Linked DNA regions of Homo sapiens: all the other regions are linked to region 2. The links are contacts of gene promoters, found by promoter capture Hi-C in human tissues and cell types (Jung and others, 2019). All regions are on one chromosome and are shown on one strand. Each heading gives the region's core, a stretch centred on a gene start or on the middle of the fragment in contact. The rest is flanking DNA. Distances are from core to core; before and after follow the strand shown. Region 1 holds the start of ZNF443 (zinc finger protein 443). Region 2 holds the start of ZNF700 (zinc finger protein 700). Region 3 overlaps HOOK2 (hook microtubule tethering protein 2). Region 4 holds the start of ZNF791 (zinc finger protein 791). Region 5 holds the start of TNPO2 (transportin 2).

Evidence for each region. Contacts are between HindIII fragments. The study calls those that stand out against the background at their distance.
Region 1: a contact is called between the fragment with the promoter of ZNF443 here and the fragment with the promoter of ZNF700 in region 2, in 1 of the 25 tissues and cell types used here (dorsolateral prefrontal cortex).
Region 3: a contact is called between a fragment that was not itself captured here and the fragment with the promoter of ZNF700 in region 2, in 1 of the 25 tissues and cell types used here (heart left ventricle).
Region 4: a contact is called between the fragment with the promoter of ZNF791 here and the fragment with the promoter of ZNF700 in region 2, in 3 of the 25 tissues and cell types used here (IMR-90 fibroblasts, lymphoblastoid cells and mesenchymal stem cells).
Region 5: a contact is called between the fragment with the promoter of TNPO2 here and the fragment with the promoter of ZNF700 in region 2, in 1 of the 25 tissues and cell types used here (spleen).

What each region holds. Positions count from the first base shown.
Region 1 is chr19:12,439,743-12,445,557 of GRCh38, forward strand. ZNF443 (zinc finger protein 443) reads right to left here and starts at 1,279. Exons shown (of 4, transcript NM_005815.5): 1 at 1,170-1,279. The coding sequence starts at 1,172. RefSeq lists a silencer at 958-1,047 and an enhancer at 1,458-1,727. The HindIII fragment of the contact is 16,773 bases long and covers 1-5,815 here.
Region 2 is chr19:11,922,050-11,928,037 of GRCh38, forward strand. ZNF700 (zinc finger protein 700) reads left to right here and starts at 3,058. Exons shown (of 4, transcript NM_144566.3): 1 at 3,058-3,224. The coding sequence starts at 3,162. It also overlaps a transcript of ZNF69 not described here. RefSeq lists enhancers at 964-1,754, 1,755-2,544, 2,701-3,273, 2,721-2,770, 2,821-2,930 and a silencer at 3,321-3,520. The HindIII fragment of the contact is 4,963 bases long and covers 97-5,059 here.
Region 3 is chr19:12,760,286-12,765,638 of GRCh38, forward strand. HOOK2 (hook microtubule tethering protein 2) reads right to left here. Exons shown (of 23, transcript NM_013312.3): 19 at 4,714-4,796; 20 at 4,529-4,632; 21 at 3,383-3,493; 22 at 3,243-3,314; 23 at 2,718-3,146. The coding sequence ends at 2,997. Among named protein-coding and RNA genes, the nearest start is that of BEST2, 11 kb to the left of the region's middle. RefSeq lists an enhancer at 5,244-5,353. The HindIII fragment of the contact is 3,945 bases long and covers 2,122-5,353 here.
Region 4 is chr19:12,607,158-12,612,330 of GRCh38, forward strand. ZNF791 (zinc finger protein 791) reads left to right here and starts at 3,763. Exons shown (of 4, transcript NM_153358.3): 1 at 3,763-3,925. The coding sequence starts at 3,923. ZNF490 (zinc finger protein 490) reads right to left here and starts at 3,656. Exons shown (of 5, transcript NM_020714.3): 1 at 3,407-3,656; 2 at 2,001-2,045. The coding sequence starts at 3,523. It also overlaps the pseudogene VN2R16P. RefSeq lists enhancers at 3,325-3,544, 3,875-3,934 and a silencer at 3,675-3,734. The HindIII fragment of the contact is 50,335 bases long and covers 1-5,173 here.
Region 5 is chr19:12,722,077-12,727,392 of GRCh38, forward strand. TNPO2 (transportin 2) reads right to left here and starts at 1,856. Exons shown (of 26, transcript NM_001382241.1): 1 at 1,693-1,856; 2 at 1,173-1,289. RefSeq lists enhancers at 1-389, 390-1,007, 806-955, 1,008-1,626, 1,627-2,243 and a silencer at 216-305. The HindIII fragment of the contact is 34,827 bases long and covers 1-5,316 here.

The sequences.
Region 1 (5,815 bases), core at 29-2,528, 520 kb after region 2:
TTAGCCTCCCAAGGTGCTGGAATTACAGGAATGACCCACCGTGTTCAGGAACCCAAAACAATTCTTTCAAGAAAAAGCCATACATTGCTAGCTGAAAACAAGATGACAAACTAGTGAAATATCGCCTGGGGCCAAACAGTTCATACTGTTGCTGTGAATTAAGGACAGAAGGTTAGCCTGGGGAAGTCTCTGGAAACCAAGAGATTTGCTGCCAGCCCTAGGAAGAGTCAGGATGAGAGAACACAGTGGTGGATTTGAGACCCTGCTGCCCACGTCTTTGGAAGACTCAGAGGGGAAACGGTCGCCCTTGGAAAGGAAGAAAGGACTGAGGACCACGGAAACCACAGCTCCTCCCACACACAAACCCCACACACGAGTCTGGATTCCACCTGGTGACTCGTCGTCACCGTGCAGCCTCCTCACCGGGTTCACAGGAACTGCGAGCCAGGCTGGAGGCGAGATTGCAGTTAGATATTAAACAGGTGCCCTCAGCCCCGCTGCCTCAAGGGGCCGCCTCCCTGAGAGTCAGGTCACAGCAGACGCTGACCGCCGGCTTCCCCATTGTGCCTGGGGATAAGATCTCCGAGTGCTGCTCAAGAGTCGCCGGAGTTCTCAGATCCTGAATCCCAGCAGAAAGGCTGGCGCCAACCAGGTTGAAGACCCCACGAGGGAGCCCTCTCAGCAGAATGCGGTTTCTTCACCTCCTGTCCCAGGATTCACCCCTCACTTCCCCACCAACCAAGGACGCTACACCCAGCCGCCCCCGTCCAGACCCCAAATCCCTCAGGGAGGCGGATCTGGGGTGTCCTCCCCTCTCCTCCTGTTAAACCGTTTCTGCTGCAGCCCTCGGCGTCTCGGTGCAGTGAGTCGGGCCGCGAACCTGTGTTGGTTACAGCCGCACAATCTGGGGAGACCCGGGGCTGCGGGCTCGGAGCTGCCCAGAGAGGGCGCCGGGGCCGCAGTCGCCGCGCAGGAACGGGACAGGACGCCCGGGGTCCCGGCTGCATGCCCAGCCCCACCCTGCGGCCGAGGGCCGACCTACGCCAGGGGGACCCGGGTCCGTAGATCCCGAAGTCGCCCTTGGGGAGGCCCGGGTCCAGCCACAGCCGATTACGGCCGGTTCCACCTAACCCCTCCCCCGCCTCGGGACGCCGGCCCAGCACACGCACCATTTCCCGACTTCCGCGGTGTCCCAGGTCCTACCGACAGCTCCCGCTGCCAATGCGTGTTCCAGCCAGACAAAGGCTGCCTCAGAACTTCCAGGTCGTCTCTCAGCTACAGAACCCAGAGCCGAGCGCAGGTGGGTGGAGCAGACGCCGCGGGCTTTTTCAACCACACACACTTCTCTGGGCAGTGCCTGATTGACAGTTCCCACGAACCCGCCCCACGCCCCTGATTGGATAGGGCGTCAGGTCCCGCCCCCTGAGGGCTGATTGACAGAAGAAGCGATCTTGCACAGCTGAGTGGAGCCGGATGAGCAAGTTCCTGACACAGCCCTTGGCAGGGGGGGCTTCCTCCCTGCTCTTTGATCTGAATCCTCCCGGGTTATATTTGCACTTAAGCGGAATTTCCTGCCCGTACTCAATAGGACCTCCTGCTTCTTCCTCCTGGACACGGACTGACAAACTAATTATATCTTTTTTTTTTTTTTTCCTCGAGAGGGAGTCTTGCTCTGTCGCCCAGGCTAGAGTGCAATGGTGCGAGGCTCACTGCAACCTTCGCCTCCTGGGTGGGTTCAAGCAATTCTCCTGCCTCAGCCTCCCGAGTAGCTAGGATTACAGGCACGCGCCACCACCCGGCTAATTTTTGTATTTTTCAGTAGAGGCTGGGTTTCACCATGTTGGCCAGGCTGGTCTCAAACTCGTGACCTCGTGATCCGCCTACCTTGGCCTCCCAAAGTTCTGGGATTAGAGGCGTGAGCAACTGCGCCTGGCTCCAATTATGCTCTTTTTCAATGAAATTTTTCAAGATTTTTCAATGTACAATTAAATTATTTTTTACTATAGTCACTCTGTTGTGCTAGCAAATACTAGGTCTTATTCATTCTTTGTAACTATTTTTTATACCTATTAACCATCCCCACTTCCCCCATAACTACTCCTCGCTACTACTTTTCGCAGCCTCTGGTAACCATCCTTCTACACATTTTTGGTTGTTTGAGATGGGGTCTTGCTCTGTTACCTAGGCTGGAGTGCAGTGGGGCCATCATGGCTCACTGCAACCTCTACCTCCTAAGCTCAAGCAATCCTCCCACCTCAGCCTCTCAAGTAGCTTCAGATTGTTCACTGTTGGCATATAAAAATGTTATTGATTTTTGTGTGTTGATATTGTATACTGCAACTTTACTGAATTTATTTCTCAGTTCTAATACTTTTTTGGTGGAGTCTTTAGGTATTTCCAGATATAAGATCATATTATATGCAAACAAGGATAATTTGACTTCTTCCTTCCCAATATGGATGCCCTTTATTTCTTTTTTTTTCTTTTTTTTTTTTTTGTCTTATTGCTCTAGCTGGGACTTCAAGTACTGTGTTGAACAACAGTGGTAAAAGTGGGCATTCTTATTGTGTTCCAGATCTTACAGGAAGGGCTTTCAGTTTTTCCCCATTCATTATCATGCTAGCTGTGGGTCTGCCATATATAGCTTTTATTATGTTAAGGTATGCTCCTTCTTTACCCACTTTTTTTTAGGGTTTTTATCATGAAGGGATGTTAAATATTATCAAAAGCTTTTTCAGTGCACATTGAAATGATTATATGGTGTTTGCCCTTTATTCTGTTGAAATGATACATCACATTGATTGATTTGCATATATTGAACCATCCTTGCATCCCAGGGATAAAGCCCACTTGGTCATGATGAATGATCTTTTTGGTGTATTGTTAAATTCAGTTTGCTAGTATTGAGTTGAGGATTTTTGCATCAATATTCATCAGTGACACTGGCCTATAGTTTTCTTTTTCTGACATGTCTTTGTCTGGTTTTGGTGTCAAAGTAATATTGGCTTTGTAAAATAAATTTGGAAGTATTGCCTTCTCCTCTGTTTTTTGGAATAGTTTGAGTAAGATTGGTATTAGTTCTTTTTTAAATGTTGGTAGAATTCAGCAGTGGAGCCACTGGGTTCTGGGGTTTTCTTTGCTAGGAGACTTTTTATTATGGCTTTGATCTCATTATTTGTTATTGGTCTGTTCAGGTTTTTTATTTCTTCATGGTTCAATGTTGCTATGTTCTATCTGCCTAGGAATTTATCAGTTTCTTCTAGGTTTTCCAGTTTATTGGCATATAGTTGTTCTTAGTTGCATTAATGATCCTTTGAATTTCTGCAGTATCAACTGTAATGTCTCCTTTTTCACCTCTAATTGTATTTATTTGGGCCTGGTTTTTTCTTAGTCTACCTCAAGGTTTGTCAATTTTGTTTGTCTTTTCAAAAAACCAACTTTTTGTTTCATTGTTCTTTTCTATTGTTTCTTCATTTCAAATTCATTTATTTCTACTGATTTTTATTATTTCTTTTCTTCTACTGATTTTGGGTTTGGTTTGCTCTTGCTTTTCTAATTCTTTAAGATGCATTCTTAGGTTGTTTATTTGAAGGTTTTCTTCTTCTTCTTTTTTTTTTTTTGAGATGAGTTTCACTTCACTCTTGCAGCCTAGGCTGGAGTGCAATGGCGCAATCTCAGCTCACTGCCACCTCTGCCTTCTGGGTTCAAGCAGTTCTCCTGCCTCAGCCTCCCAAGTAGCTGGGATTACAGGCACCGACCACCATGTCATTTTTTGTATTTTTAGTAGATACAGGGTTTCACCATGTTGGCCAGGCTGGTCTCGAACTCCTAACCTCAGGTGATCCACTCCCTTTGGCCTCCTAAAGTGCTGGGATTACAGATGGGAGCCACTGCACCCAGCCTGAAGGTCTTCTTCTTTTTTGATGTAGGTGCTTATATCTATAAACTTCCCTCTTAGTACTGCTTTTGCTGTATTCCATAGGTTTTGGTATGTTGCATTTTCATTATCATTTGTTTGAAGAAACTTTTCAATTTTCTTCTTAATTTCTTCATTGACCCACTCGTCATTCAGGAGCGTATTGTTTAATTTCCATATGTTTGTATGGTTTCCAGAATTCCTCTTGTCATTGGTTTCTAGTTTATTCCACTTATTCTGTGACACAATTTATATTATTTCAATTTTTCGGAGCGTTTTAAGACATGTTTTTTGACCTAACATATGGTCTATCCTTGAGAATGATTCCTGTGCTCAGGAAAAGTATGTGTATTCTGTAGCTGTTGGATAAAATGTGCTGTAAATATCTATTAGGTCCATTTGATCTATAGTGTAGATTAAATCCCATTTAATCTTTCTTTTGTCCAATTTTTCAGTATATATTGAAATAATCTTTGTTGATTTACTGTCTGGAAGATCTGTCCAGTTCTGAATATGGGGTGTTAAAATCTCCAGCTATTAGTGTATTGGTGTCTATCTCTCTCTCTCTCTTTTTTTTTTTTTTTTTGAGACAGAGTTTCACTCTTGTTGCCTAGGCTGGAGTGTAGTGGTGCAATCTTGGCTTACTGCAGCCTCCACCTCCAAGGTTCAAGCAATTCTCCTGCCTCAGTCTCCCAAGTAGCTAGGATTACAGGTGCCCACCACCACACCTGGCTAATTTTTTGTATTTTTAGTAGAGACGGGGTTTTGCCATGTTGGCCAGGCTGGTCTTGAACTCCTGGCCTCAGGTGATCCACCTGCCTTGGCCTCGCAAAGTGCTGGGATTACAGGCATAAGCCACCATGCCCGGCCCTCTCTCTTTTTACCTAATAATATATGTTTTCTATATCTGAGTGCTCCAATGTTGGGTGCATATATGTTCACAATTGTTACATCGTCTTGCTGAATTGACCTCTTTATAATTGCATAGTGACCTTCTTTGACTTTTCTTACAGTTTTTGTCTCGAAATATATTTTGTCTAAGTATTGCTACTCCTGCTCTTTATTGGTTTCCACTGGCATGGAATATGTTTTTCCATTCCTTTATTTCCAGTCTATGGGTTTCTTTATAGGTGAAGTGTGTTTCTTGTGGGCAACAGATCATTAGGTCTTGTTTTTTTAATCCATTTAGCCATTCTATGATTTTTGATTGGATAGTTTAATTCATTTACATTCAGTGTTATTATTAGTAAGTGAGAACTTACTCCTGCCATTTTGTTATTTGTTTTCTGGTTGTTTTTTCATCTTCTCTCCCTTCTTTCCTTCCATCCTGTCTTCTTTTTAGTGAAGGTGACTTTCTCTTGTGGTATGATTTAACTTCTTACTTTTTATTTTTTGTGTATCTGTTGTACATTTTTTGACTTGAGGTTGCCATGAGGTTTGCAAATACTATCTTATAACCCATAATTTTAAGCTGATGACAACTTAATGCTGTTGTATAAACAAAGAAACAAACAAAAAGAAATCTAATGAAAACTCTATGCCTTAACATCATACCCGCTTCTTAACTTTTCTTTGTTTCTATTTATATATTGCTTGTACTGTCTGTGTTTTGAAAAGTTGTTGTAGTTATTATTTTGGATTTGTTCATCATTTATTCTTTCTACTTAAGAATAATTTACGGCCAGGCGCGGTGGCTCAAGCCTGTAATCCCAGCACTTTGGGAGGCCAAGGCGGGCAGATCACAAGGTCAGGAGATCGAGACCATCCTGGCTAACACGGTGAAACCCTGTCTGTACTAAAAATACAAAACATTAGCCGGGCATGGTGGCAGGTGCCTGTAGTCCCAGCTACTTGGGAGGCTGAGGCAGGAGAATGGCGTGAACCCAGGAGGTGGAACTT
Region 2 (5,988 bases), core at 1,808-4,307:
AGATAACGATGTCCAAATAGCCAAGGCCAAAGGAATGGGCTCCAGACACCCCTCCCTTCCAGAGCAATGTTGAAGGAAAAAAAAAAAAGAGACAGATTCTTTTACTGTTACTCTTTTGCAAGTCTTCTTAAGCATTATTATGTTTTACAAATGTCTGTATTTAGCCAGTTCTTGTTTTTCTTTCAATGCAGCTACAAGGACACTGGCTATGCAAGGTCATAAATTATGTTATGCTATAGATTACATGACCTGTCACTGTATGATTAACTGCTTTTGTTTGGCATCTGTAAGACAGCGTATAAAAACCCCACTTTGTCTTCGTTCAGTCCTCAGCTTTTTGGATATGAATCGTCTGAGCCAGTGCGTACCTAAAATATAAACAAATCCTCCTGTACTCCATATTGGTCTCTCCTTCCTCAGTTTACCACAACAATGGGATTCTAGGACACTAGGTATGAAGCAAATATGAGGAAGTTCAGGGAACAAGCTGACTTAATGATTAATGCTGAAGGTTCTGCAGCTTGGTTTAAGTTTTCTCCTCCCATCCTCCCTGATGAATTTGATAAAGTTTAAAGGGATGGTTTCACCAGGGGCCTTTTCCATTGACTGCAAGGAGGTCATCCGCCTGGTAAATCCTCAGTAGGCCAAGCCTCTTATGTGGCCAGAATGATCCAGTCCATAAGGAAATACCACCTGCTGTGTTTTACAATTAGACCATCCAAGGGGGTCAGGGTTTCCCCGGGGAGTCTGGTGGGCTTTTTATGGGTTTTTTTGTTTTTGATTTTTTTTTTTTTTGAGACAGTGTCTTGCTGAAGTTCAGTAACCTGATCACAGCTCACAGCAGCCTCAAACTTTGGGGCTCAAGTGATCCTCCTGCCTCAGCCTCCTGAGTAGCTGTGATTACAGGTACACACCACCTCTCCTGGCTAATTAAAAAATAGATTTATGGAGATGGGAGTGTCTCACTTCACTGCTCAGGGTGGTCTTCAACTTCGGGCTTCAAGTGATCCTGCCACTTTGGCCTCCCAAAATGTTGGGATTGCAGGCATGAGCCATGGCACCTGGCCTCCCAGGCTGTTGTTGAAAGGTCTTTGCAATCTCTAAGAGTTCTGCAGCAGTTTATTCCCTGACAGCGAGAGTCTCATCCTTTGATCCCATTTTGCAGCAGTAGTTGGGTGTTCACTTTTCTTTCCATAAGGAAGCAAGCTTGCCAGTGACCCTCATCCCCCTCCTCATCGATGACTTCTTTGTCATCAGAGCCTTCCTCTTCATAAATTCCCACGGAATCCAAGTTTTCACGTCCCGATTGGGCTTAGTTATGATAGCTACTGGCTCACACAAGCTGCAACAGCACCCCGTCCCATGGAAGCCACCCGACTCTCTCCTCCCTGAGTTTCCTGTCCTGGGAGCCCCCATCTCTGCTCTCCCGGGCTCCGGGCCCTAGAGCCGCACTGCTGCAGAGCCCAGTTCCCAGGGCAGCTCCCTCCACCTATCCACATCCATCTCCAGCTCTCCACCCTCTCTCCCACCAGCCTGGCCTGGAGGTGCTGCAGTGTCATTGACTGCGAGTCCCTCAGCTGCCACCTCCACCGCGATCTGGAAGTCTTTCAAATGCCCTTAAGTTATCTTAGATTTTTCCTCCCCCACTTTATACATAAGCATAGGAGGAGAGCAGGGACTCTGCTGGTGTCTTATTTACACAATGGGATTGAAGGTGTTTGTCTCGCGAAACTAATCGATGGGGTGAGAAGTAGCTGAATAACCTGCAGGGGGCAGCAGAGCCCAAGGCCAGTGATTCCACGTTGAGGACAGTCTCTGCAGCCTGCAAAGGGAGGGAAAGAGAGTTTCCCTGGGGGCTTCGCGGGCAGCCCACCCCCTTCTACAAGTGGCCTCCAGCTGCTCAGAGCAGCTCCAGAAAGGGTGTGGATTCCGAGAAGCTGCAGAGCCCTGGAAAGCAGAAGACCCATGTGCAGACGCATTTGTGGCGTCTCTGTCCTTTCTGGTGTTGTACCTCTGGAGCTGTCTTCTGGGCAGGGTTTGGGGTTTGACATGCATGGGGTCGTTGGGGTCAGAGTTATTTGTATAGATAAAGAAAATGTGTGGCCGGGCGCGGTGGCTCACGCCTGTAATCCCAGCACTTTGCGGGGCCGAGGCGGGCGGATCAAGAGGTCAGAAGATCGAGACCATCCTGGCTAACACGGTGAAACCCCGTCTCCACTGAAAATACAAAATATTAGCCGGGCGTGGTGGCGGGCGCCTTTAATCCCAGCTACTCCGGAGGCCGAGGTAAGAGAATGGCGTGAACTCGGGAGGCGGAGCTTGCAGTGAGTCGAGATCGCACCACTGCACTCCAGCCTGGGCTACAGAGCAAGACTCCGTCTCAAAAAAAAAAAAAAAAAAAGAAAGAAAGAAAAGAAAATGTGTGAAGATCAGGCTAGAGCTAGAGACAGAATTGTTTGGTGGCGTCACCTGGATAAAGGGTTCATGAAGTTGACAGTTTACTTAGGTCAGAAACAAAACCTGGTGAGAGTTTCCTGCTGGTGAAAATGAAGATCTGAAAGGAGGAAGCATTTTCACAAGGGGATGGGGGTGTGTGAGCAAGGCTTGGCCACGCCTCATCCCCAATTCCGGCCCGCTCGAGGACATATGCCTCTCCTCCTGGTGCAGTCGTGCCTGGCCTGGTCTCGGTTCCCCTGCTGCTCTGAGGCCAGCAGTTGGCTCCTATGGACACTGAGTCTGAAATTCCCTGCACACTCCTGTGACCCCGTGCAGAACGAAGGAGCGGGGACTGTCCCTTGAGTGAGGATGACGCTAGTGTTCTCTTCTATCAATAGCAAGTTTGGCTGAAATGCAAATATCCAATAACCAGAGTGCAGAAAGCAGCTCGCCCTTAGAGAAGCTGTGGCTAGAATCCGTCAGTCTGGCTCTGCGGGGCCTGATACCCAGGGCTTCAGCTGTCACTCAGATGTGGGGGGCGGGACCTAGTATTTCATCCAATCAGAGGTGCTGGGGCGTGGCACTGCCCACAGTTCATCCGGAAATGGAGGGGGTCGCTTTCCTCACCTTCCTCGCTGCGCGGGCGGCGGTTGGTAACCGGTCAGACCAGCCCGAGAGGGACCTGGTGCCTGTACCCAGGCTTCTGTCGCTCTGTCGCCTGCGCTATGCCCTGCTGTAGTCACAGGAGCTGTAGAGAGGACCCCGGTACATCTGAAAGCCGGGAAATGGTGCGTGTGCGGGACCAGATGTCGTGAGACGGGGGAGGGGCTGCCTGGAACAGGCGGGAACCGGCTGTGGCGGGACCCGGGCCTCCCTGTGGGCGACTCCGGGGTCTGGGACCGAGTCCTCCTTGAGCAGTTCGGCCCTCGGTCCCCTTGGCCGCTGGACGGGGCTGGGCCAGCAGCCAGGACCCGGGCGTCCTGTCCCGTCCCTGCGCGGCGACTGCGGCCGCGGCCCCTGCCCCGGAGCCCTCTCTGGGCAGTTCCGCTCCCGCAGCCCCGCGTCTCCCCAGATTGTGCGGAAGCAACGGGAGGGTCATGGAGGCATCCTGACTCGGGTGTGGGGTTCGTGCGTGGGAGGAGCAGTGGTCTGTGGGGCCCCCAGTCCCCACTTTCTCCTGTTAAAAATTAAACTGAGGTACGTTAACAATTAAAGAGTTCATTTGAGCAAACAGCGATTCACGAATGAGAAACACCCCGTCCTGGGTTGTGGTTTGTCAACGGAAAAAGCCAAACTATGTAAAATAAAGAAGTTTATTCAGAGCCGAATAGGAGAGACCTTGGCCGAGGGAAACACAACCCCAAGCAGCCTGGAGTAAGTGGTCCCGAGGCGGCTCAAGACAGTTTGGTTTTATTCATTTCAGAGAGACAGGAATTGCAGGGAAAATGATGAATCAGTGCCTGAAAGGTGTAAGTTCCATTGGCAGAAAGGGTGGGACCTGTGGAAGGGGGGTTAGAAGGCACAGGTGGTTGAGGGATTCTGTAGGTGGCAGCTGGTTGAGAGTGTGAAGTTTGTCTAAAGTTTGGAGGAGGTAGGAAGGAAGGGGGTCTGTTATCTGCCACTTGATTCCATCCCAGCCAGAAAACAGACCTGTTTCTCTAGATTTTATGAATTCTGAGGCGTGACTTTACTTTTGCCTTGCGTGGCCTTAGGTTTTGTTTGTAAGTTAGTATCTTCTTGCCACAAGCAGTCTGTTTTTCCATTCTATCTATTTTTACATGAATGTGTGGGAGAGGGTATAAGGAGACCTGTCTCACCTCCCATCCTGTCATACAGAGGCACTCAATTTTCAGGGTTTTTTGCGGGTCCTGTTGGCCAAGAGCCGGTCACTTCACTTAGCTGGAAAGGTACTTTGTTTTTATTTGAGACGGAGTCTCCTGTCGCCCAGACTGGAGTGCAATGGCCTGATCTCGGCTCACTGCAACCTCCACCTTCCGGGTTCAAGTGATTCTCCTGCCTCAGCCTCCTGAGTAGCTGGGATTGCAGGCATGCACCACTATGCCCTCCTAATTTTTGTATTTTTAGTAGAGATGGGGTTTCACCATGTTGGCCAGGCTGGTCTCGAACTCCTGACCTCAAGTGATCCACCCACCTCAGCCTCCCAAAGTGCTGGGATTACAGATGTGAGCCATCTCGCCGGGCCAGAGGTATGTTTTTATTTTTAGTTTACCAGTTTAGGGGTAAGCTTTTATAAGTTACGTGAGGAGACAAACCAGATAAATGCTTGATTGGTTGCAGAGATGCAGTTGCCTTATTTGGACTTGTCACTCCGAAATAATAGAAAGGTCAAGATTTCAGTTGGAAGAGTTTATTCAAGCGGAAGGATAGCAGTGGCCCATTTGGGAAAAACACAGACTCTAGGGAAATAGACTCAGTACTCCAAAACTGGAAGTTAAGTTCTTGCTTGTATTACCAGGAAAAGAGGTCCTGATCAGACCCCAGGAGAGTTCTTGAATCTCACACAGGAAGGAATTCAAGACGAGTCACAAAGTGCAGTGAGAAGAGAGTTTATTGAAAGCTACTCTGGGCCAGCATGATGGCTTAGGCCTGTAATCCAAGCACTTTGGGAGGCCAAGGTGGGAGGATAACTTGAGGTCAGGAGTTCGAGACCAGCCTGGGCAACATAGTGAAACCCCATCTCTTCCAAAACTAGCAAAAATTAGCCGGGTGTGGTGGCCTGCACCTGTAGTCCCAGGTGTTCAGGAGGCTGATGTGAGAGAATCACTTGAACCCCAGAGGCAGAGGTTGCAGCCCAGCCGAGGATGTACCACTGCACTCCAGTGTGGGTAACAGAGTGAGACCCCATCTCAAAAACCAAAACAAACAGGAAAGAGGTCAAGACCAACCTGGCCAACACAGCGAGACCCTGTCTCTATTTAAATAAATAAATAAATAAATAAATAAATAAATAAATAAATAGAAAAGGAAAAAGAAAGAAAAAGCTTCTCTGTTTCAGAGTAGGGCATCCTCATACAGCAAGTGGAGGAACGTACTGTCTTTAAGTTTTTCTTATGTAGGGATCTTTTCTATGTAAAGAATAAACTACCTGTGCCTATGTGCATGTGGGCTGACAGCATCACAAAATTTATTACTCTGTTGATTTAAAGAAAACTATCCTTTACATTTTAGCACCCAAGTGCATTAAAACATAACTATAATTATCTTGAAAGCACATATTGTTATAGGTATTGGGACATCAGGACATTCTATTGTTGTGGGAGTGTAAGGATACTTGCAGGCATCTTCAGGCTGTTTTCTTCATGGGAAACATTTTGTGATCATGGGTTGTGACTGACAAGGAGTGTTTCTTGTTAGTGTCAAGATGGAGCTGAACTTAAATTGGTGTTACTCTGGCTCCCCTAGGCACCTGCTTCCCTAACACTTGTATAGGCAAAAGGCAAATAAATGTAACAGGATTATGTTTTCCATAGAAGGCTGATGTATGAGATACAACAATTTTTTTTTTTTTTGAGACAGTATCTTGCTCTGTGA
Region 3 (5,353 bases), core at 2,844-5,343, 840 kb after region 2:
GGATTACAGGCGTGAGCCACCGCGCCCGGCCGAGATTTGCCTTTATTTTTATTTTATTTTTGAGACGGAATTTAACTCTTGTCACCAGGCTGGATTGCAATGGCATGATCTTGGCTCACTGCAACCTTCGCCTCCCGGGTTCAAGTGATTCTCCTGCCTCAGCCTCCCAGGTAGCTTGGATTACAGGCGCCCACTACACCCAGCTAATTTTTGTATTTTTAGTAGAGACAGGGTTTCACCATGTTGGCCAGCCAAAGTGCTGGGATCACAGGCGTGAGCCACCGTGCCCTGCCAGCTTTGCCTTTAAATCGTATCTAGAATCCAACCATTTCTCACTCCTCCAGGACCCCAGCCTGGCCAGAGCCCTCACTATCACCCACCCACCCACCTGGACTACCAACCAGGTCTTCAAGCTCTGGCCCTGGCCTCCTAAGCCTGTTTCTCCCAGAGTGGCCACCAGAGGGCGCCTATGAACACCCGAGCCAGGTCACATCCCTCCTTTGCTTAGACTCTTCCGTGGCTCCCACAGCACTTAGAATAAAAGTTAAAGTATTCTCTGCAGCCCACAAGTCCCTGAATAATCTCCCCACCCTCATCTGCTTTCTTTTTCTTTTTCTTTTTTTTTGAGACAGAGTCTCGCTGTATCGCCCAGGCTGGAGTGCCAGTGGAGCCATCTCGGCTCACTGCAAGCAAGCTCCGCCTCCCGGGTTCACGCCATTCTCCTGCCTCAGCCTCCCGAGTAGCTGGGACCACAGGCACCCGCCACCACGCCTGGCTAATTTTTTTGTATTTTTATTTTTATTTATTATTATTATTTTTTTGAGACGGAGTTTTGCTCTTGTTGCCCAGGCTGGAGTGCAATGGCATGATCTCAGCTCACCACAACCTCCGCCTCCCAGATTCATGCGATTCTTGTGCCTCAGCCTCCAGAGTGACTGGGATTACAGGCGTATGCCACCACATCCGGCTAATTTTGTATTTTTTTTTTAGTAGAGACGGCGTTTCTCCATGTTGGTCAGGCTGGTCTCAAACTTCTGACCTCACGTGATCCGCCCGTCTCAGCCTCCCAAAGTGCTGTGATTACAGGCGTGAGCCACTGTGCCCGGCCGCATTTTTTTGTATTTTTAGTAGTGACGGGTTTCACCGTGTTAGCCAGGATGGTCTCGATCTCCTGACCTCGTGATCTGCCTGCCTCTGCCTCCCAAACTGCTGTGATTACAGGCGTGAGCCACTGCACCCGGCCTTCTGCTTTCCTTTTATTTTTTGAGATGGAGTCTTGCTCTATCGCCCAGGCTGGAGTGCAGTGACACAATCTCGGCTCGCTGCAACCTCCGCCTCCCGGGTTCATTCTCCTGCCTCAGCCTCCCGAGTAGCTGGGACTACAGGCACCTGCCACCACGCCCGGCTAATTTTTTTGTATTTTTAGTAGAGACAGGGTTTCACCATGTTAGCCAGGATGGTCTCAATCTCCTGACCTTGTGATCCGCCAGCCTCAGCCTCCTAAAGTGCTGGGATTACAGGCATGAGCGTGAGCCACCACGCCCGGCCTTCTGCTTTCTTATTCACTCCACTCCAGCCACTCTGGTCCCCTTACTGTCCCTCCAGCACACCAAGCGAGGTGTCATCTCAGGGCCTTTGTGCAAACTGTTCTGCCTGGATCTTCCCCAGGTACTTACATGGCCTCTCCCTCACCTCCTTCAGGTATCTGCTTCAATAATGTCACTTCCTTGGTGAGGCCTCCTTTCTGGGCCTTTTTATTCTTTTTTTTTTTCGATGGGGTCTCACTCTTGTTGCCCAGGCTGCAGCAAGCTATGATTGTTCCACAGTGGTGGCTCACTCTGGTAACTCTGGGCACCAAGGTGAGGGAGATAAAGTGGGCCAGGGTTTAGCCCACTGCTTTTAAGAAAAGCTTAGTGGCCAGGCGTGGTGGCTCACTCCTGTAACCCCAGCACTTTAGGAGGCTGAGGTGGGCGGATCATCTGAGGTCAGGAGTTCAAGAACACCCTGGCCAACATGGTGAAACCCCGTCTCTACTAACAATGCAAAAATTAGCCAGTCGTGGTGGCATGCGCAGGTGGTCCCAGCTACTCAGGAGGCTGAAGCAGGAAAATCCCTTGAACCCAGGAGGCAGAGGCTGCAGTGAGCCAAGATCGTGCCACTGCACTCCAGCCTGGGCGACAGAGTGAGACTCCATCTCAAAAAAAAAAAAAAAAAAAAGCAACAACAACCAAAAAACAAAACCACCACACATTCACAGACACACAAACGTGATCCTCACCTACCTCTGGTTGGTGCTATTGGTCACTCACATTTTAGTAAGAATGCAAGCCAAGCTTTTCTTTCTTTTTCTTTTTGAGATGGAGTCTTGCTCTGTTGTCCAGGCTGGAGTGCAATGGCATGATCTCAGCTCACTACAACCTCTGTTTCCCAGGTTCAAGCGATTCTCCCACCTCAGCCTCCCGAGTAGCTGGGATTACAGGCATGTACCACCATGCCCTGCTAATTTTTGTATTTTTAGTAGAGGAGGGGTTTTGCCATGTTGGCCAGGCTGGTCTCAAACTCCTGACCTCAGGTGATCCACCCGCCTCAGCCTCCCAAAGTGCTGGGGTTACAGGCGTGAGCCACCGTACCTGGCCGCTAAGCTTTTCTTAAAAGCAATGGGCTAAGCCTCTGGCCCACTTTCTCTCCCTCACCTTGGTGCCCAGAGCACAGCCAGGGCAGATTGAACGCCTTTATTTTTCTCAAATATAAAATCAGAGTCTCCTGAGGCAGCACATGAACTCCAGAGAGAGAATCAACAACAAGAATCACATTGCTAAAAAGAACAGGCCTATATCTACCTCCCGCCCTCCCTCCCCACCAATCTGGGAGAGGGAAGAGCAGAGATCATGGCCTCAAAGCTCTCGAGCACCTGGCTGAAGCCCAGTGCTGGGCGCCATGTGAGCTGGAGGAAGCCAGGGTGGGTGGAGCCCAGGCTGGCTTGATTGTGAGGTCTGTCAGTGCTTGTCAGTGGGGCGAAGGTTCAGAGATGCCAGGCGTCCCAAGGGTCCACGGCGAGAATTGGTTGCCAGCCGCTGCTGTGCCAGGAATGACTGGGCATGGGCAGGCGCCCGCTCCTCCCCAGCTCGCTGCTGCAAGGCCATGCCCTTCAGGAGGAGGTGTGGTTGGGGTCAGGTGAGCTCACAGGACCCCCCCACCAATATTCTACCCATGAGATCTTAGAGCCCAGACCCCACACTTACCATATTATACCAGGCACTGATGAGCAGCTTTTCTTCCTGCTCCCGCTGACTTCGGCTTTTCTCAAAGTCCATCTGTCAAGGAGGCAAGTGTCAGGGGCCTAGATACGTTGGAGGCAGCGTAAAGGGACGAGGACACCCACCTCCAGGTGTCGGATGCGGACATCCCGTTCTCGGAGCTGTGTCCTCAGGGAATGGAGTTCTGGAGGTGCCCCCGCAGCTGGCCGCTGCTTGGGTTCCATGGTCTGCATGACCTACAGGTTGAGGAAGTCATAGCCAGGTGACTTTGGCCTTGAAACCCCCTGGGACATACTGGGGTGTGTGTATTCATTCATTCTTTCATTCATTATAGAGACAGAGTCCCCCTATGTTGCCCAGGATGGTCTTGAACTCCTGGCATCAAGCAATTCTCCTGCCTTAGCCTCCCAAAGTGTTGAGGTTACAAGCATGAGCCATTGTGCCCATCCAGCCAGTACTTTATTTTTACTTTATTTTTATTTTTATTTTTGTGATGGAGTCTGGCTCTGTTGCCCAGCCTGGAGTGAAGTGGCGCACTCTCAGCTCACTGCAACTTTTGCCTCCCGGGTTCAAGTGATTCTCCTGCCTCAGCCTCCCGAGTAGCTGGGATTACAGGCGCATGTTACCAATCCCGCCTAATTTTTCTATTTTTCGTAGAGACGGGGTTTCGCCATGTTGGCCAGGCTGCTCTCGAACTCCTGACCTCAAGGGATCAGCTGCTTCAGCCTCCCAAAGTGCTGGGATTAGCGGCGTGAGCCACTGCGCCTGGCTGTGCGTAATTTTTTTTTTTTTTTTTTTTTTTTTTGAGATGGACTCTTGCCCTGTCGCCTAGGCTGGAGCGCAGTGGCACAATCTCAGCTAACTGCAACCTCCGCCTCCCGGGTTCAAATGATTTTCCTGCCTCAGCCTCCTGAGTAGCTGGGATTACAGGCACCCACCACCATGCCCAGCTAATTTTTGTATTTTTAGTAGAGATGGGGTTTCACCATGTTGGCCAGGCTGGTCTCAAACTCCTGACCTCATGTTCCGCCTGCCTTGACCTCCCAAAGTGCTGGGATTACAGCCATGAGCCACGGCACCCAGCCAGCTGTGCAGTATTTTAATGTGACAATCAGTAGCAGTGGGGAATCATGCAGAAGTCTGTCTTATGGTGGGGTATGACAGGTATGAGTTGGGGGCACAGATGTGCAAGCAGGAGGTTTGACTCAATAGGAGGCACAAAAAGTAAGAAGCCAGGGCAGGCAACTTGTGGGAACACCCAGCGTCCTCACCATGCGGGCCTTGTCCACGTAGCGGCGGTATCGCTCCTCCATGGCCCGCAAGTCCGCGTCCTTCTTCTGCAAGTTATGCTGCAGCTCCTCGATCCGCCGGGCTGCTGGCGGAAGAGGTGGCCCATCAGCTCCACGCTGCTGGGCTCTGGGATCTCCCCACCCTCTGGTCACTAGGTCCTACTTACTGCTGCTGTCAGTGGGTGGCTCCAGCTCCTCAATGTACTCCCGCTTCCTCTGCAACTCCAGATCTGCCTCATGAAGCTTCTGCCTGTGGGCCGGGGATGAGCAGCAGTGGGCTGACCTCCGGGCTGGCTTCTCTTTTGTCCCAGTGGTAGCCACAGACCTCCCCGCCAGCCAGAAATGCCCCTACATGGCCACAGAGCCCTCTCTGCCTGCCCCTCATGCCTGGGGCTGTGTGCCCTGGTCCCACCGGCTCCACAGCTGTCAGAGCCACAACCCTCCGCACCCTTAGCAGGTATGCCCCGGAACAGCCCCTGCTGTCCACTTCTTCCCATCCCACAGCTCCCAAGCTGGTTCAGCCACCATCTTCCCTTGCTAGCTTCTTCTACTCTCAAGCACTCCATCCAGCAGCCAGGGATCTTTCTAGAATACAAATCTCTTCAATAGCAGACAGGTAAAAGAAAAGAAAGCAGGCCAGGCGCGGTGGCTCATGCCTGTAATCCCAGCACTTTGGGAGGCCAAAGCGGGTGGATCATCTGGGGTCAGGAGTCCGAGACCAGCCTGGCCAACATAGTGAAACCCCGTCTCTACTAAAAATATAAAAAATCAGCCAGGCATGGTGGCACATGCCTAAGAAACTCCCCA
Region 4 (5,173 bases), core at 2,513-5,012, 690 kb after region 2:
AGCAGGACCCTGTCTCTAAAATTTAAAAAATTTAAATTTTTTTTTTTTTTTGAGGTGGAGTCTCACTCTGTCACCCAGGCTAGAGTGCAGTGGCATGATCTCGGCTCACTGCAACCTCCACCTTCTGGGTTCAAGCAATTCTCCTGCCTCAGCCTCCCAAATAGCTGGGATTACAGATGTGCACAACCACACCTGGCTAAAAAAAGAATTTTTTTAAAATTAGCCAAGCGTGGTGGCGCACACCTAGTCCTAGTTCCAGCTACTAGTCCCAGCTACTAGGGAGCCTGTGAAGTTGAGTCTACAGTGAGCTGTGATCTTGCCACTGCACTCCAGCCTGGGTGACAGAACATAATAGTAATAGTAATACAATATAATAACAGTAATAATAATGGAACTTCTCAGTATTAAAGTCCAAATGTGTGCCACCACATATACTGAGCACTGTCAAAAACTGAAAACTCAGGCCAGGCATAGTGACTCACACCTGTAATCCCTGCACTTTGGGAGGTTGAGGCAGGAGAATTGCTTGAAGCCAGGAGCTTGAGACCAGCCTGGGCAACACAGCAAGATCCCTGTCTCAAAAAAAAAAAAAAGGAACAAACAAGAACAGCATAGCATCTGCAGACAGAGAAGCAGCAGCAAATCAGTGGAGGCCAGGATTGATAGCTTCCCCATTTCGGGTTTTGGTAGACAGGAAGGACGGTGACCCAGACACTGAAAAATACCAGCATGCTGAACTTAAGGATTGGCTTATTGAAAATGTCAGGCAAGTTCCTGGCCAGAAAAGCCACATTGAAGCTCCCATGAGCCAAGGAACCCAGGATTCACAGAACAGTCAATAACCAAATCGTGGTTTTATGTGAAGATGACATATTCAGGCTCAGATTATGTATCCACATGCATGAAGGCTGTAGTCATTCCCCATGAAATTCCTCCCACTTCAGCATCCCAAAGTGTTGGGATTACAGAGTCACTTAGATCAGGGAACTGATAGCAATGACAAAATTAGGTACCCCCGACACTAACCCGTGCCTTATCCGTCTCTTGCATGTTTACCTTGAAGGTCAGAACTGCAGTGATCGTTTTGTCCAAACTATGCAAACAAGTAAACATGACTCCAAATTTGTGGTTTTTGTGTTTTTTTGAGACAGGGTCTCGCTCTGTTGCCCAGGCTAGAGTGCAGTGGCACCATCACAGGTCACCGCAGCCTCAGGTTGAAGCCATCCTCCCGTCTCAGCCTCCCGAGGACCTGGGACTATGCCACCATGCCCAGCTAATTTTTTATCTTTATTTATTTATGTATTTATTTATTTATTTATTTATTTATTTTTGAGACAGAGTTTCACTCTGTTGCCCAGGCTGGAGTACAGTGGCGCGATCTCAGCTCACTGCAACCTCCTCCTCCCAGATTCAAGTGATTCTCATGCCTCAGCCACCCAAGTAGCTGAGATTACAGGTGTGCCTCCCACCATGCCCAGCTAACTTAAAAAATATTTTTAATAGAGATGAGGTTTCAGCATGTTGGCCAGGTTGGAAACCAACTCCTGGCCTCAAGTGATCCACCCACCTTGCCTCCCAAAGTGCTGAGATTACAGGCATGAGCTACTACACCCAGCCATTTTTTTTATTTTTTGTAGAGACAGAGTCTCACTACATTGCCCACACTGGTCTCAAACTCCTGAACTCAAGCAATCCTCCTACCTCAGTCTCCCAAAGTGCCAGGATTACAGGCATGAGCCACTGCACCCAGCCCAAATGTGATATTCCAAAGGATGCAGGTGGCTGTGTTGGGATGGCCAATGAAGGTAAGGGACAATGGAAGTACAGGGTGAGGGCAATGAACAGGACATACCTGAGAGCCTGGTTATTGGCCTTGACTATGGGAGTGCCTTCACAAAGACCCGAAAGACCCCCCCACAAAGAGGTCATAGAAGGACAGACCCAAATGGTCATTATAAACAAGGAAGGTAGCCACGCTGACAGGTAGCGATCTCACTTACAGTTTGAGTCTTGATGCTTTGTCCATGGTGTTCACTGTTCTGCATCTAATTAGAAACAAGAGGATGCATTTTGTGAGTTTCAGCAATTTAGAACTAAACATGACCTTTGACAGCCTTGGAAGCATTGTTCCCCCTGCATCTACCTGTACACACAGAGCTACCAGAAGGGTGGATCATGGGAGTTTTCAAGATTACACTGTCTCCTCTATAATGGGAAAAATGAAATATGTTTCTACTTTAAAAAAAAAATTTAGAGACAGTCTCTCTCTCTCCCAGGCTGGAATGCAGTGGCACAATCTTGGCTCACTGTAACCTCAAACTCTTAGCCTTGAGATCCTTCTGCCTCAGCCTCCGAAGGAGCTAGGACTACAGGTGAACACCATACCCAGCTAATTTTTAAAAATTTTTTGAGAAATGGGGTCTCGCTATGTTGCCCAGGCTGGTTTTGGGCTCTTGGTCTTTCCAAGTTCTGTAGGGACACTTTAGAAAACTTATTTGAGATAAATTTCCTTCCACTTTACAGCAACACGGATGGAACTGGAGGCCATTATCCTAAGTGCGATGATGCAAAAACAGAAAGTCAAAAACTGCATCTTCTTACATATAAGTGGGAGCTAAACAATGGGTAAACATGGACATACAGAATGGAATAATAGACACTGGAGATGCCAATAGGTTGGACAGAGAGGGGGGATGAGGGATGAAATATTACCTATTGGGTACAATATACACTCTTTGGGTGATGGGTGCACTAAAAGCCAGACTTCGCCACTATGAAATATATCCACGTAACACAAGTGCATTTGTAACCATAAATCTACAAAAATAAAAATAAAAATGAAAAGCAATAAAAACATGCTTAAACTAAAAACAAACAAACAAAAAAACAACGAAAACAAACCATTTCCTTCCAGAGTAAAACGCAGTTTACTGAGCACGTCTCATAGATCGTGATTGGTCTGAAGAGTCCCTGTGCCCAGGTTAGGGTTGCAATTTACCACCCGAGCCAAGTGCTCGGGTGTCCTACGGATTGTTTTTTCTTTCTTTCCTTTTTTTTTTTTTCTTGGGATGGGTTCTGGCCATGTTGCCCAGACTGAACTCAAACTCCTGGAGTCAAGCGATCCACCCGCCTCAGCCCACCCACCCCCCGACCTCCCCCACCGCCCCCACCACGCAGTAGCTGGGACTACGGGTGTGCGCCACCAAGCCCTGCCTTGGGGTTCCTTTTCTAAAGTGCCAAATGTGTGGAGGTGGGGAAAAGAAAGGTGGACGCCTCAACGCTGTTATGGTCAAAGATTAAAATGCAACCACACTTTTTATTACACATGATGGGGTAACCGTCTGTTTATAAACAAGGGTCACTATTCCACGAGAGGCCTTACAACATTATGCCAAGCCCCTGGTACCTGGAGGACATCAGACCCTCCTGTTCCTGTGCGGCCTTGACTAGACGACCACTTGCTCTGGACTTGCTCCTCGAGGGGTCGCTCCATCTGGAAACTGAGACTGGAATTCCTGCGCATCCCTGTCCCCGCATCCAGAAACACTGCAGGAAGACTTCCGTGTCCGACCCGAGATCCGGAACAATTTCTGCTTCAACACAATTGTCCACGGAGGGCACCAGTTCCGTCCCACCGGCGGAAGCGAGATCTGCCTAGCTACTAGACCTGCTGCCTAGCTGTCATTCGGACAAAAAGGGGCGGGGCTGTATAATTGTCCAATCAGGGGCGGCGCCGGAAAGGAGGGTACGGCTACGCTGCGCAAATGCGTGCTACGTCACTGTGCGATCGGGTTGTGCTTAGCTTGGGGTCTCCTGGCCCCTTGACGCGTCAGGTTGCTGTACCCCTGCATCGGATGCGCTGTACCCTGCGCTGGCTCCGTGAACCTTAGGGACAACACCGGGACACCCGCGAGGCCGGAAAATGGTGAGTGTGCAGGGCCGGACTAGTTGGAACCGGCCGTGATCGCGGGACCCGGGCCTCCCCACGGTCACCTCCGGCCGCAGTGTGGGGCTGGGCTGGCAGCTGGAACTCCAAGCGTCCTGTCCCGTCCCTGCGCGGCGACTGCGGTCCCAGCCCCGGAGCCCTCTCTGGACAACTCCGCGCCCGCAGCCCCGCGTCTTTCCCAGATCGTGCAGGGACCACGGGAGGGTCCTGGGGAGAATCCCGCCTTGTGTGTTTGGTTTGTGTGGGAGGAGCTACAGTCTGGGGTTCCCAGTCCCTTCTTTCTTCCCAAAGGCTGTTTCCCCCTGAGTCTTCCAAAGATGTTGGAAGCAGAGTCTCAAATCCACTACCCTGTCCCCCCAGCCTAGCTCCTCCCACGGCGGGCCATTAATCCCTAGATTTCCGGATCCCTCCCCGAATTCCCAAACGCCTACTTCCGCTCGCCAGTGGAAAACATCGTCACCAACTCTTTGTCCTGTGTGGTGCATTTCAAACACACGCAGTATTTTAATAATCTTTTTTCCAATAGATGCCTCTTTTAAACGATTTATTTCTTGTTTGTGGATATTTTACATCAGAGAAAAATCAGAAAAATTATTCACTTGGAACTAATCTGCATAAAATGCTGTGGCCCTCATCCTGGTACCTTTCCAGGGCACAGACATCCTATGGGAACTCCTTTGCGTTGAGGTTCCTTTTTGTAAACTTTCCTGGGTAATCTATCTTTTCAGCACAGTTTCAGATTGGCACTGTCCCGCCTTGGGTTTATGACCTTGAAAAGATTTATTCACTCGAATGTCATTTTTCCAATAAATATAAAATATATGTTATCAGAAGAACTTGAGAGACAGTACAAAATATTTCCAAAGGGCAAAAAAGAAATGAATCTCAGAAAACAAAAAACATCCCAATATTACATTTGTTAAAAATTCTTTGTTCTTTCCCTGAGCACATGGAATATGTTTCTCAGGTCTGTTCTTTTAGTTTGATGTTTCAGATGGTATTCCAGGACTTAAACTTGCAACATCTAGAAGCATTCAGATAGAAGTAATACTTTTGTAAACTATTTATTGCCATGGAAATAATTAACTGACATTATTATTTTCTTTTTTTTTTTTTTAACAGATGGGGTCTGGCTGTGTTGCTCAGGCTGATCTTGAACTCCTGGGCTCAAGCGATCCTCCACCCTCAGCATCCCAAAGTGCTAGGATTCCAGGCATGAGCTACTAT
Region 5 (5,316 bases), core at 606-3,105, 800 kb after region 2:
GCGGCCTCCCCCAATCAGACCCAACCAAGCCCCACCGAAACAGGCCCCTACACACACCCGATCCTCGCGACGTCCCCCAATCAGGCCCCAAGCAGTCCCCAGACGCTTCCCCCAATCAGATCCCCTCCAGCCCGACCCCAGCAGTCCCACTGGCCCTCTTCTTGAGGAGCCCCGACATGGCCTGGCTCCGAGGCCCCACCCCCTAAGCTCTGCTCGGTTCCCCCCTCCCCCGCCCGGCCCGTTCTAGCTGCCAGGAGGATCGGGCCCAACCGGCTTCCCGGCCTTTCCCGGTCGGGCGCGGCCCCGACGCCCGGGCCGCGCGCGGCGCAGGCTCGGTGCCCGGCGGGGGTCGACGCAAGCCGGGGCCAAGAGGGTCGGGCTCTGAGTGAGGCCCACTTACCCGGCCCCGGGCAGCAGCGGCGGCAACTCGCGCTGCGGCTTCTCCAGAGACTCGCGCGGAAGGAGGGAGCCAAAGAGAGAGAATTAAAAAAAAAAAAAAAAAAAAAAAAGAAAGAAAGAAAAAAAAAAAAGAAAAACGCGGCCGTAGGTGAGCCGCCGCGGCTCCCGTACTCCGTTCAAACTGGTCCCGCCGAGCCAATCGGAAGGTTCAACCTTCACACGTGCCCTGGCACTTGGGAAACCCGGGCTGAGACAAGGTCCGGTCACGTGACCAAAGAGTTGCCGTTTCTTTGGCCTCTCTAGCCAGCCGGTCCTCCCAGTGTCTCGTTTTCCCAGCATCTTTCACTGACCTGACCGCAAGCTCTTTAGCTGGAGCCAGGAGTTTGGTAGCGCGTGGGGACTTTGTGTGTGATGGATCCAGGAACCCCTCGGCCAGAGCCAGCACCCTCCTTGTCACCTTCCTCCACTAAAAATTGAAATGTGCCTCCCTTCCCCCATCCAGAGGTACTTGGGAGGAGTACGCTGTGTGTGCGCAAGGAAAGAGCTGAGCGTGCTCTTTATACCCCAGAGACAAAGGAAAGAAAGCAGGACAAAGTAAGTGCCTGAGACAAGCCGGGTTCCTACAGAAGCCTCTGCCACTTTTTGCATTATTTTCCAGTACTGTTTGATAGTTTTTACAAGGAGATGAAAAAGCCACAAGGATATAAATTTTTGAATAAAACGAAATGAACTAATAAAATAAACTTTGAACCACGCCTAATCCCTTTCCCTACCTGAAGTTGAATGAGGTGGAACAGCGCAGGAAATTCTGGCAAGGGCAGGGTCATGAAGAAAGAAATCTTCTTGATCCTTGCGACGTCTGAAGACAGTAGGGCACCGTTTTTCCTTCTCTTGAGAGAGGAGCAGATGGTAAAAAGCTGGAGACCCTGTAGCGTCTTGGTTTCCCCTCCCTGCCCTGCCGATAACAAAGTGGGAGACCTCCTGCCACTTGAAGCCTCAGTTTCCCCACTTGTCAAATGGGTATAAGAGCAGTTCGCGCGATTAGAGATCATCCAAGTTAAGCATGACCTGGCCAGCTCTGAATTGTTCCTTAAAAACGTGGCTTTACCCTCCAAGGCTCAAGGCTGTTCTTTTACTGTATTCAGCCCCTCCCTAAGCCGATATTTAATGAATTCACCAGCTCTAATCCCAAAGAACAACCCACCCTGCCCTGAGGAACTTTTTGACCCTCGAGAGAGGCAGAGGTCAATTTTTGCCCCTGCCTGAAGGAGGGGAACAGCTATCTCAACCCACTTGCCGTAGGCAAAGTCAGTCCCGGCTCCGTTCATTCATGAAAATCAAGTCCCGGGCCTCCAAGGTTAGGGAAGTGTCGGCAGGCGCCTAACTCCACTCGGAGAATCGCGGAAGACACCCTAAAGGAGCAGTTGGGATTCCGAGGTAGCCAGTTCCGCTGGACTGAAACCTGGGCTGAGAAACACGTGCAGAAAGCCGCCACCAAGGCATGCGTAAAGGCCTCCCTCTCCCCCACCCTCCGATAAGCCCTGGAACTACAAATCCCGTCCTGCCATGCGCCAGGGTCGCCGCGCTTTGGGGTTTTGGCTGAGACTCAAATTGGCAGGAGGGTCTCTAGACCAACCGAGGTGCATGGGGAGCAGAAGAGTGAGACTGGGGAGCTGGGGCTGGATTTGGGGGTTCCTGGAGCGAGTGTGAACGATAAGAGCTTTCTGGTCAAATTTGGGGGCTGCCCCAGATAAAGATCAGATGGGGAGCGAGTTTGGGATGCAGGAGACAATTTGTTAAGGTTCACCCCCTTCATATAATATGGCAAATTTTCAGCGGCCCTCCGCAAGCCTTGGGGCAGAACAAAGTAGCCCCTGCTGCATGTGTGGTCCACATTGTTGGCCCTTGTGTGGTCACGGAATTTTTTCTTCCTCTCCAGCTGGTGAATTTGAGTGTTGAATCAGGACAAGGTTTTGGGTTTTTGTTGTTTTGTTGTTTTTGTTTTTCTATTTCTTTGTTTTGTTTTGTTTTGTTTTTGAGACGGAGTCTCGCTCTGTTACAAGGCTGAAGTGCAGTGGCGCGATCTCAGCTCATTGTAACCTCCGCCTCCCGGGTTCAAGCGATTCTCCTGCCTCAGCCTCCCGAGTAGCTGGGATTACAGGCATGCGCCACCACGCCCGGCTAATTTTTTTTAATAGAGATGGGGTTTCACAATGTTGACCAGGATGGTCTTGATTTCTTGACCTCATGATCTGCCTGCCTTGGCCTCCCAAAGTGTTGGGATTACAGGCGTGAGCCACCGCGCCTGGCTTTTTTTGTTTTTTTGTTTTTTGAGATGGTGTCTTGCTCTCATTGTCCCGGCTGAAGTGCAATGGCTCAATCTCGGCTCACTGCAACCTCCGCCCCCGGATTCAAGCGATTCTCCTGCCTCAGCCTTCCGAGTAGCTGGAATTACAGGCGCCTGCCACCACGCCAGGCTAATTTTTTGCATTTTTAATAGAGATGGGGTTTTGCCATGTTGGCCAGGCTGGTCTTGAACTCCTGACCTCAGGTGATCCACCTGCCTCGACCTCCCAAAGTGCTGGGATTACTGTGCCCGGCCCAGTTTTCCTATTTCTTTCTTTCTTTCTTTTTTTTTTTTTTTTTTTTTTTTTTTTTTTTTTTTTGAGACACTGTCTTGCCCTGTCGCCCAGGCTGGAGTGCAATGGTGGGATCTCAGCTCATTGCAACCTCCGCCTCCGGGATTCAAGCTATTCTGCCTCAGCCTCCCGAGTACCTGGGACTACAGGCACCCGCCACCACACCCAGCTAATTTTTGTATTTTTAGTAGAAACAGGGTTTCACCATATTGGCGAGGCTGATCTTGAACTCCTGACCTTGTGATCTGCCCGCCTTGGCCTCCCAAAAAGTGCTGGGATTACAGGTGTGAGCCACCGTGCCTGGCCTTTTTTCCTTTTTTTTTTTTTTTTTTATTTTGAGGTGGAGTTTTGCTCTTGTTGCCCAGGCTGGAGTGCAATGGTGCAATTTCGGCTCACCACAACCTCTGCCTCCCGGGTTCAAGTGATTCTCCTGCCTCAGCCTCGCGAGTAGCTGGGATTACAGGCATGTGCTACCACGCCCTGCTAATTTTGTATTTTTAGTAGAGACCGGGTTTCTCCATGTTGGTCAGGCTGGTCTCGAATTCCCGACCTCAGGTGATCCACCTGCCTTGGCCTCCCCAAGTGCTGGTATTACAGGCATGAGCCACCATGCCTGGCCTTTTTTCCTATTTCTTAAGCACCTACTGCATGTCAAGTGGTTTCCAAATGTTATCTCATTAATACCGGATGTGGTGGCTCATGCCTGTAATCTCAGCACTTTGGGAGGCCGAGGGCAGATCACGAGGTCAGGAGATTGAGACCATCTTCTGGCTAACACAGTGAAACCCTGTCTCTACTAAAAATACAAAAAAATTAGCCAGGAGTGGTGGCCTGCGCTTATAATCCCAGCTACTCAGGAGGCTGAGGCAGGAGAATCGCTTGAACACGGGAGGCGGAGGTTGCAGTGAGCCAAGATCACACCACTTCACTCCAGCCTGGGCGACAGAGCGAGACTCTGTCTCAAAAAAAAAAAAAAAAAAAAAAAAGGCCAAATGTTATCTCATGCAAATCTCACAACAGCCCTATGCCTGGCAAACTTACCCTAGTTCAATTAGAAGCTCTCTGTGCCAAAAGAAACTCACAGAATTGGTGTCCAACCAGCCGGGCGCGGTGGCTCACGTTCATGCCTGTAATCCCAGCATTTTGGGAGGCCGAGGCGGGCAGATCACAAGGTCAGGAGATCAAGACCATCCTGGCTAACACGGTGAAACCCTGTCTCTACTAAAAATACAAAAAAAAATAGCCAGGCGTGGTGGCGACCGCCTGTAGTCCCAGCTACTCGGAAGGCTGAGGCAGGAGAATGGCGTGAACCCAGGAGGCGCAGCTTGCAGTGAGCCAAGATCGCGCCACTGCACTCCAGCCTAGGCGACAGAGCGAGACTCTGTCTCAAAAAAAAAAAAAAAAGAATTGGTGTCCAACCGCGAATCTGAAATGTGAGACAAACGTGTTCTCAATTTACAGCAGCCTCCCTTCCCAAGCCTCTCATCACACTGTCCCCCGAGTTCAAAGGTCAGCACTTCAACTAACTTAACACAGTCCCCAAACGCAAGCCAACTTCTTCACCCTGGAAAGCACTAGCTGTTTTAAACAATGGCAGGGTTAGATTCTATGAATATTGCCCTTACTTTAGAACTTGACTCTAGAGATGCTTCTTTATTTTACCCCTATTTGATAGATGAAGAACCTGAAGTACAGAAAAGCTAAGTGACTTACCCAAGATCACACAGTCAACAGGCACTAGAATAGTCAGAAGCCAGGGCTGTGTGACTCACCAAAACCTGGATATGATTCTCCTCCCTCTTCAGACTTTTCTCAGGTCAGAGCAGGTAAGTACTGTAAAGGGATGTGCCTGGACTTTCAGCCTCTCCTGCCTCTTGACACTAGAATAGAGGCTGAGATGCTGCAGGGCGACCTACTTCCCAGGCTTCTGTTGCTTTTTAAAGATCCAGTCTCTGCTGGTGGCTTTGGGGGAGGAGGAGGTAGGGATGGCTCCATTAGCTTCCTGTGTTCCCTCCCCCCATACTCCACCCCCAAGGCCAAAGTCACACCTGGGCTAGCTTAGCATCCCCAAAGTAGGAGGGAGAGACCTTTCAGCCCACATGCAAAGTAAAGCAGAAAAACCTTATTGTGTGTTAGCAGGAAGCGAAAGAGGAAAGGTATCCTATTCTTTTTTTTTTTTTTAATTTTTTGAGATGGAGTCTCACTCTGTTGCCCAGGCTGGAGTGTAGTCACTGCAACCTCTGCCTCCCCAGTTCAAGCGATTCTCCTGCCTCAGCCT